Regions from separate parts of the Homo sapiens genome. Here region 1 is linked to region 2. The links are contacts of gene promoters, found by promoter capture Hi-C in human tissues and cell types (Jung and others, 2019). All regions are on one chromosome and are shown on one strand. Each heading gives the region's core, a stretch centred on a gene start or on the middle of the fragment in contact. The rest is flanking DNA. Distances are from core to core; before and after follow the strand shown.

The links. The method cuts DNA at HindIII sites, captures the fragments that hold promoters and counts their contacts. A contact is called where the count stands out against the background at its distance.
Region 1: a contact is called between a fragment that was not itself captured here and the fragment with the promoter of AARD in region 2, in 1 of the 25 tissues and cell types used here (IMR-90 fibroblasts).

What each region holds. Positions count from the first base shown.
Region 1 is chr8:116,799,309-116,804,395 of GRCh38, forward strand. All of the region lies in intron 2 of LOC112268030 (a long non-coding RNA gene), which reads left to right. Among named protein-coding and RNA genes, the nearest start is that of UTP23, 35 kb to the left of the region's middle. The HindIII fragment of the contact is 4,683 bases long and covers 1-4,672 here.
Region 2 is chr8:116,934,589-116,939,491 of GRCh38, forward strand. AARD (alanine and arginine rich domain containing protein) reads left to right here and starts at 3,619. Exons shown (of 2, transcript NM_001025357.3): 1 at 3,619-3,979. The coding sequence starts at 3,656. RefSeq lists a silencer at 3,889-3,988. The HindIII fragment of the contact is 10,639 bases long and covers 1-4,903 here.

The sequences.
Region 1 (5,087 bases), core at 1,081-3,580, 140 kb before region 2:
TCATCTCTGGTACTCTGTCCTGGGAACACGAGCCAGCTTATCTCTCTGGACTTCCAACTTTGTCTCAGGAAGTTTGATGGGCTCCCCTTCCATGCTCTGTAGCCTGGAAACTCTCTCTAGGCAGAAAGTTACAGCAACTGTAGAAGTCATTTCATTTCTTTTTACTTCTCAGGAAACATATCTTTGTTGCTGATGTTCAATATCTTGAAAACCCTTATTTTATATATACTGCTGTTATTTCAGCTGGGTGAGTAAATCTAGTCCCTGTTATTCCATCTTGGTTAAAAACAGAAGTTTCTCAACTGTGGTGTTTTGAGACTTCAATCCTAAAATATTAGTGATATTTGGAAATGAATGGGTGGAGGTAAGAGGTCAATCATGGGTTAATTTCCAAAGAAGAGGAAAAACTGCATGGATATGTACAAGGTTAGTCCAAATGGGAATATTTGAGTTATTTGTTTATTAGTGATGAGTCTTCTCTCTTTGGTGGTGGAAGTTCTATTGACTAAGAAGAGCATATTTTTCCTTATGGTCTCACTGTAGATGGGGCTATATAAAAGCAAAAATACCAGGGACGATCTGTCTTCCAAATCTAAATCTAGGGTAGTTTGGCATATACAGCATTGGGCCTTATTCTCTCTGGAGACTCTTGTGTGGGATAATTATTATTATTCATAATAGTAACAGCCATTACTTCTTGAGCACTTTCTATGTACAGGAATCCTTCTATGTTACACAAATTTATATAAGTATACAACAATCTCAATAGGTAGATACTTTATCATCAGTTTTTAAATAAGGGAACTGAAGTTCAGATAGATAAAATAACACACCACATGTCTCATAGCTACCAAAGTTACAGTTGGAATTTAAACCCAGATCAATATGACTTCAAAGCCAAAATGCTTATATAGTATGGCATGCTAAAGGAACTCTATACAGCCACTTTAGAAGCTTCTTGAGAAGATCCTAAGGAATCAAGAATTCCATAGCATTTTTACATCTCCACACACATTTAGCAAAACATCCTAAGGAGGAAGGGATAGAGCTGGCATTAACCAATATTGGCCTGGATTGAATCAAACCTAGGGAAGAGAAACTAGGGGACTTGAATGGGGCTCTCACTCATCGTAGATGCTTTTGGAGTTCCAGGGCACTGTCCGAATTTTAACCTTTGAAATCTAAACCCAAGTTGAACAGAGATTGACAGGTCTTTCCGAGAAGAAATCTCATGTTTGCCGAAAGCCTGGGGGAAGAGTTGGTCAAGACGTCATGTCGTTCCACTTTAGCAAAGTACTTTGAAGATAAAATCAAGAAAGTTGAATTCTTATTATGTTGGGTAAGAGCTCTAAAGTTCTGTTGCTAAGGCCAGGAGTCAATTGAATTTAATTCAACAAACATTTATTAAATGCCTTCTCTATGCCAGACACTGTTTTAGGGTGGAAAATCAAAGAAGAATAAGACACAGCCCCTACGCTAGAGGAAACCAAAGGTCTAGCTGGGAAAGTGGGTGCATAAACAAATAATTATGATAGGATGGGATAAAAATGTACACAGACAACTCTGAGGGTTCAGAGGTGGGGCCAGGGAACCCCATCTGGGGTTGGGAATGTTACAACAGGATTCTGCAGCCTTGTGTGTTTGCTTCATGAGCAGCATTTAGAGTTTTAAGATTTTTAGTATTACACTAGACTTCCTAGGGCAAATAGCAGTCATGTCACTTTCCTTTTGTTTTTGGTGATTCCAAAGCCACCATGCTGGGAATATACTGAGAGGAGAAAGGAGAATTCAAAATAGAGTCAGGAGCTTGTTCTGCCTTCAGTGTGCTCTGTGATTTGAGTGTGCCACTGGGCCTTTTAATTATCAAAAGGTGTTGATCTTGTGAATACACATTGCTAAGTCACCTGTTGGATATTAATAGCAGAAGCCAAGAGTTTACCCAAGGGAGTGATGAGATCAGAATTCTATTATTAAAGGGTGACATTCTCTTGCTGTGTTGAAATTAGACTACACTGTGATTATATCCTACAGTCCTAGAAAACAACAGCAACCAAGCTACATTCAACTGTTAAAAGTGTTATTCATAATACCTCTTATAGCAAGCTATACTTATTCCTTCCTTTAAATTAAGTTGCCTTTTTCTTATAAAAGTAGCATATGTTGATTAAGTGGAAGTACAGAGCCAATTATTGTGTTAGTTTCCTATTGCTGCTATAACAAATTAACACAAATTTAATGGCTTTAAATAACACAAGTTTATTCTTCTGGAGATCAGAATTCTGAATTGACTTTCCCAGGCTGAAGTCAAGGTGTGGGCAGGGCTCATTCCTTTTAGAGGCCCTAGGGAAAACCTGTTTCCTTGCCTTTTTGTTGCTGGGGGCTACCCACATTTCTTTGTAACCTCCTTCCCTCATCTTCAATTTTGCTTCTGGCATCATATCCCCTTTTCCTCTAACTCTGCCTTCTCCTGAGTTTTCTTTTTTTTTTTTGTTTTTTGAGACGGAGTCTTGCTCTGTCGCCCAGGCTAGAGTGCAGTGGCGCAGTCTCGGCTCACTGCAAGCTCCACCTCCCGGGTTCAGCCATTCTCCTGCCTCAGCCTCCCGAGCAGCTGGGACTACAGGTGCCTGCCACCATGCCTGGCTAATTTTTCTTGTATTTTTAGTAGAAACGGGGTTTCACTGTGTTAGCCAGGATGGTCTTGATCTCCTGACCTCATGATCCGCCCGCCTCAGCCTCCCAAAATGCTGGGATTACAGGCTTGAGCCTTCTCCTGAGTTATTATAAAGACCAGTCTGATCATATTGGGCCAACCCAGGTAATCCAGGATAATCTCTCCATCTCAACGTCCTTAATTTAATGACATCAGCAAAGTCTCTTTTGCCATATAAAATAAAATTCATATGTTCAAGGGATTAGGATATGGAGATATTGGAGGGGGTTATTCAGTCGACCTTAACTACTGTCTATGTTTTGGAGCATTTACTTAATATTCTTCTCGAATTTATATAATTCAGATTATTCTGTATAGATACATTGATGTTATGCCTTTGTCATTTACCCTTGTATTATTTGTCCATCCGAATAAGTTTTTTGAAATAATACTTTTTGACAGCTGTATAATTCTTCTGTAGGGATATATGATAATTTATGAAGTCATTGCATCACAATTTGGACGCAATCGTTGGAGCAATCATGGTTCTAAGAGATAGAGTCCAATTCAACCTGCTTAAGCAAAGCAAGGAAGTTATTGGCTCTGGCAATCCAATGCACTGTTAACAACCAGACTCCATGGGATTCAGCAGGGCTTCAGGGGCCACTGCAACCATGGATTCTAATAGTGCCAGGACAAACTTCATCTTCATGTCCTTTTCATGCCCTCTCACATGTTATGATCTCATCCACTAGAGAGGCACTAGCTGACCACAAGCCCTTTGTTTAACTAAGTCAATCCAAGCCCCTTAAAAAAAAAAGAAAGAAAGAAAAACCCCAGTTTCTTTCATCATGGCCTGAATCTAATCTCAGGGAGTTCAATTGCAGGTCTTGGTGAGCTGGGTCCTTGTCCCTATCAGCAATGCCTGGCAGCTTGTTAGAAATGCGGAACTCAGGCTCCACTCAGGACATAGTGAATCACAGCCTGCATCGTAACAATATCCCAGGCAGCTTGAATGCCCATGGATGTTTGTGAAGCACCGTTCTAGTAATTGCCTTAGTTCTGTCTTTAGATTTTTGTGGATGTGGACAAAGCCTGTGTTGACTGACCAGCAATCAAGGTTTATAGTTGTAGGAGAGGAACAGGTAAGGGCGGTTTAGCAAGACAGAGCAAAAACAAATAGTTTCACAGATTTTTGAGAACCATACTCATAAAAATGATCATTGCCTCTGCACAGCAGTTTCTTGCACCATGAGGCAGCTAAATCTGAATAGCCAAGACCTGCAGCTGTGTCATCTGTAAGTTGTCTGAAGCACCTCAGGAAAATATGGTCTTGCCAAGTAAATCTGGTATCTCTCTGGTTTAGGCTCTGTCCCTGCCTGGTTCACCCCAGAGAGTCAGCTGATTTGTCCTTCCATGTGTTTGCAATTAAATGGGTGGACAAGGGTGAAGCCAGCACAATCTGGTATCATTTTGTTGATTACCTATGAGGCTTCTTTTCCATTCTACAAACATCACCTGCAGGGACTTACATCTGGGACTGTTGTGATTCCTACCTTTTTGTTGTTGTTGTTGTTGTTGAGACAGAGTCTTGCTCTGTTACCCAGGCTGGAGTGCAATGGCACGATCTTGGCTCACTGCAACGTCTGCCTCCCGGGTTCAAGCAATTCTCCTGCCTCAGCCGCCCAAGTAGCTGGAATTACAGGTGCCCGCCAGAAAGCCCGGCTGATTTTTTTTTCGTATTTTTAGTAGAGGCAGGGTTTCACCATGTTGGCCAGGCTGTTCTTGAACTCCTGACCTCAGGTGATCCACCTGCCTCGACCTCCCAAAGTGCTGGGATTACAGGCGTGAGCCACCGTGTCCAGCCCTCCCATCCTCTTAAGAAGCACGTAGTTTTCACACTGTTGCTAGCCAGGGAAACAACCTTGAGTAACACGTAGAGGAAACACTAAGCAAATTTGCAGAAGAATGATTTTAAAATATTCTTCAGATAAAATAATTGGTAACATGTATATGACTAGGAAATACGGACCTTGGTATCAGATATGTCTTACTGTCACAGAGTAAAAAAGGGCATAGATTCCTCTATATCTGGGTTCTGTGGTGCTAGAGAAGGATTTAAGGAACAGCGACAGTCACTCTGACATATTAACAAAACGTTTTCCAATGGCTTTTCTTGTAAAACAAATATAAGTCTCATTACCAGAAGTAGAAATAACATTAGAGGTACAATGATATGTTTCAGAGAATGGAAATCATCGCATTTTCCTTCTGATATGGCTTGGCTCTTTGTCCTCACCTAAATCTCATCTCTAATTGTAATCCCCACGTGTTGAGGGAGGGACCTGGTAGGAGGTGATTAGATCATGGGGGCGGTTTCCCTCATGCTGTTCTCATGATAGTGACTGAGTTCTCACGAGATCTGATGGTTTAAAAG
Region 2 (4,903 bases), core at 2,369-4,868:
ACAAATGCCAGAGATGAAGATCAGGGAAATAGAGGGAATCAAATATTTTGTTCAGTTTAATTAACTAGGCAATTGATCACCTAGTATGTGCTAAATGGGTTTTGTGTTGTTGTGAACAAGATATAGGTATTTCCTAACCATTAAGTTAAAAAATGTATATAACAATATATATATTTGTTTTTTAAAAACATATATATAAAACCATATGTTTATTAATTAAGAGGAATCAAAGTCACTTACGTATACCTAGATACTTACCATTTCTTATGTTACTCATTTCTTCCTGAAGATCTGTGTTTCCCTGTACTATTATTTTACTTCAGCTGAGGAATTTCCTTTAGTACTTCTTATAGTGTAAGCCTGCTTGTGACAAATTTTCCTAATTTTCCTTTTTTAAAAACATGCTTTTTGAGATTGGTTTTTGGGAGGATATTTTTGCTGAACTTAGAATTCTGTGTTAATTTAGTTCTCTCTGCGTTTAAAAATATCTCAATGTTTTCTGGACTCCTTTTTTTTTCTGCAGGAAGTCAGAAGTCATTTGTATCATTGTTTACTTACGTGTAATGTACATATGTTTCTCCCATGGTAGTTTAAAAATATATTTGGAAATTTTTGATACTCCCTACTTCAAAAGGTGGAGCTGAGGTTCCTCCCCTTGAATATAGCTCCAACTTAGAGACTTGATACTGATCAGCAGAATGGTAATAACTGACTTCCAAAGCCAGGTCATAAAAATGTAGTTCAGAGCACATGTAAAGAGCTTCTCTCTGGCTCTCTGTATTTCTCTCTTCTTGTTTTGAGGGAAGTCTACCCACTATATCATGAAGACGCTTACACAATAGTAGGAAAGAGTCCACATGGAGAGGAACTGAGGCCTCCCACCAAGTGCTGGCTCCAATTGCCTGGCATTTGAGTGATTCATCTAAGTGATTCACCTTGCCAGCAGATCCTCCAGCGCCAATCACATCCAGCTTCAGAGGATGGAGACCTTGCCTGACATTTGGTTACAACAGCATAAAAGCTAAGGACCATAACCTAAGCTGTTCCCAAATTCTTTCCCACAGAAGCTGTCAGAGAAAATAAATGTTTATTTTTTTAAACCATTGAATTTTGGAGTAATTTGTTATGCAGCAATAAATAATTAATACATTTTCTAATTCAAATGTCTGTGGATGTTATATTCAGTGCTCCAATTCTTCAATTTGCTTTGCCTGTGTAAGAGAAAGAAAAAAAATTGTAAAATTCAAGGTGTACCACAACTGAAAAATTAACCTATAGAGGAAAATTATTAATTTGTGGTAAACCAGTTTATTTTAAAAAAACATTTTGTCTCCTTGGTTTGCCATTGTAGCTTGAGCACCTTGTGTAATGCTTGGTACATAATAAGACATTAAATAAATATTGTTAAATGAATGAATCAATAAATTTGCTTCCTCAGGTTTTAAGCTTCTGGGGGACAAAAACTATGCCTTATTCATCTTTGTATCTCCCTCATATGGCACAATTCTTAACACTGAACATGCGCCATTCACTGTTGAGTTAAATTGAACTTAACTGAAATTCTTGTTGAAGTAAATGATCTGGAAATGGAAGTGAAAAATCATAGCAAAAAATTCATTTTAAACGTTTATATTGTACATTGACTAGTGGTGGTTTTCAAGCCCCATCAACCTATCACCAACCAACAAACAAAAAACCCTAAATTCACACTCCATTGCTGCATGGCAGACCACATGGATTTTTATAATTTCTACCAAGACAACACATCTTCAGATGTTTCTAGGGAATCTTTATGAAGCAATATACAATGGTAGGAATTTTACTGTGCTTGGGTTGTAAACTATTGCAAGCTGTTCAATTTAGTAGATTATCTGCACAGGCTGAGTAACCTGTATTGTTCCTTATCCAGTTGAGCCTTAAGCCATTTCAATAGAGCCGAATTTTATGAACATAGTGAATTTAAACACTTATTCACTCTTACTCACTCACTCATGCAACATATAAACTGAGCAACTCTCTTCCTCTTTGGGAGATAAAGCGTATCCAGGGTGTATCCCAGTGGTTTGGAGCACAAGCCAGACTTCCTAGGTGCAAATTTCCAGTGGATCCCTTACCAGCTTTGAGATCTTTGGTGTACGTCTTAATCTCTTGCCTTAGTTTCCTCAATTGTAAAATGCAGAAACTAATAGTACTTACCTCACAAGGTTGCTGTGAAGATTAATACATAAAAATTGCCTGGCACATACTAAGCATGAATAAAAATCAGTTGTTATTGCCTTCAATGCCTACCATGGACCCTGGAACATTGCAAGTGACTTGTAACTTTTGAATGAATGAATGAATGAATGATGAATAAGATGAGAGTTGTGTCTAAACTATGTTTTGTTTTTTTTTGTAATTGCATTCTTTGATCATACAAAAGTTTTGATTGTTCACTCCTTTTTAGAAATTCCCTATTAGATCAAAAAGAGGCAGAATATGTTCTTTGATAAAGGATATACAGGTAATATTGGCACATGATTACCTGGAGTTGGTGTATTAGTCTGTCCTCTCACTGCTATAAAGAAATACCGGAGACTGGGTAATTTGGAAAGAAAAGAGGTTTAATTGGCTCATGGTTCTGTATGCTATACAGAAAGCATGGCAGCATCTGCTTCTGGGGAGGCCTCAGGGAGCTTTTACTCATAGTGGAAGGCAAAGCGAGAGCAAGTGTCTTACATGGCAGAGCAGGAGTGAGAGAGAGAGAGGAGGTGCCATACACTTTAAACAACCAGATCTGGTAAGAACTCATTCACTATAAAGTACCAGGCGGGAATGGGGCTAAACCCATTCATGAGAACTCTACCTCCATGATCCAATCACCTCCCACCAGGCTTCATCTCCAACACTGGGGATTACAATTCCACTGGAATTTGGTGATGACACAGAGCCAAACCTTATTAGTTGGGAATTAAACACACACACTTTGGGCTAAGGGGAATTTTGATTTTTCATTTTAACCCCTTCATAAACGTGGACATGGCAGACAGGAGTCAAAATAGAAAGGAGCATGGAGACTCAGACTTCCAGGTATGCCTTACTGAACCTGTAGAAGGTACATTCTAACTAGCAAGCAGGGCCAAGGCTCTCCCCCTTGACTGCGGGCAATACCTGGGGAAAGGTGAGGGGTCTAATTAAGCCTTTGCATTCCCCAAACTTGGCAAAGTGCCTGGCAGAGTAGGAAGAAAAAAAATTGTTTTTAAGGAATGACGTATTAGACGATCAAGGCAACCAGGAAGGCTTTGGGTTGAAATATTCTAACCTTTGGTCATAAACCTTCCACCTGTACCTCAACTTCCACTTACATAGGCTGACTGCTCAGTTACCAAGCCTTCTCCTTAGAAAGACTTCCTTTCAATGCAAGCAGCAGAAAAAAGCGACTCAGCTTAAACTTCTCCTGGAGTTATGGGAACCGCCTCCTTCCTCTGTCGCTAATGGAGGACTAAGATGGGACTGGGAGCAAAGGAGCGTCTCTGAATGGCGGGGCAGTTGCAGCATCCCACTTGGCAAGGGTCCTTGAATTACCTCCGCCCCCGCCCTGACCCCGCCCTAAACATCAAACTTAGAAACTCATCTTTCAGCAGCAGCGGTAGAGCAGTGACCAGGCGTCTCCGCGATGGGCCCCGGGGACTTCCGCCGCTGCAGAGAGAGAATTTCCCAGGGGCTCCAGGGACTCCCAGGTAGAGCGGAGCTTTGGTTCCCACCTCGTCCCGCGTGCGACTTCTTCGGGGACGGCAGGAGCACGGACATCCAGGAGGAGGCCCTCGCCGCCAGCCCGCTGCTGGAGGACCTCAGACGACGGCTGACGCGCGCCTTCCAGTGGGCGGTGCAGCGCGCGATCTCGAGGCGCGTGCAGGAGGCGGCGGCGGCGGCGGCGGCGCGGGAGGAGCAGAGCTGGACGGGCGTTGAGGCCACCCTGGCCAGGCTGCGGGCGGAGCTGGTGAGAGAGCGGGCTAGGCGGACGGCTCCCAGGGCTCCCTCTCCCGGGTCCTCTCCTCCAGCTGCAGAGCCGCTGGCCGCGTAGCCCACCCGACGCCTTGGGGGGCCCCTCAGGTCTGGACACGGCGTTGACGCCCCCGCCTCCCCAGCATCGTTGGGAAGGAAAAGGGCCCTGCAGGACCCATGGTGGGGGGTGGGGGCGGGGGTGCCTGGTCTACCAGTGACATACCCAAGATGTCTCCTCCCCAACCCGTTTCTATAGTTTTCTGCCCTGTAGGGAACTGTGACTATGTGTATGTATGGCTCGCGGAGGAGGAAATTTCCATGAAATAAACTCTCTCTTGCGATTGATGGAGTGTGTCCATCAGTAACTCTTTCTTTATGCCCCGCAAGTTTTATTCTTATCTTTCCCGTGGGTAATAATTTAGAAAACTGGAAGTGATAAGGTATTTTGTAAAATTGCACCATTTCGAACATTACACAGGTTACATCCGAATATTAAACAGGAGGGTGTATAGGTAAATATTTTAGCTGACTGATTTTTTTTAATTCAAAAAACTGGAAATTAGTCACAACTTGAAAAGGACACAATGAATAGGAGCAATCAGACTTTAAAATGGTGCTGCCTAGGAAAGTGTGCAGTGGAGACTTGACTTGGAAAATTCTTCTCTTTTGCACTGATTACTAATACAATTAACCACTACTTTAGAACTGAGCCAACCATTAGTAAATTGTCTTATTTAAGAATGTTATCGCATTTCTAAGTTTAAGAAGAACAGTATTAGGCCGGAGCTGTGGCTCATGCCTGTAATCCTAGCTCTTTGGGAGGCCGAGGCAAGTGGATCACCTGAGGCCAGGAGTTCGAGACCAGCCTGGCCAAAATGGTGAAGTCCTGTCTCTACTAAAAATACAAAAATTAGCCAGG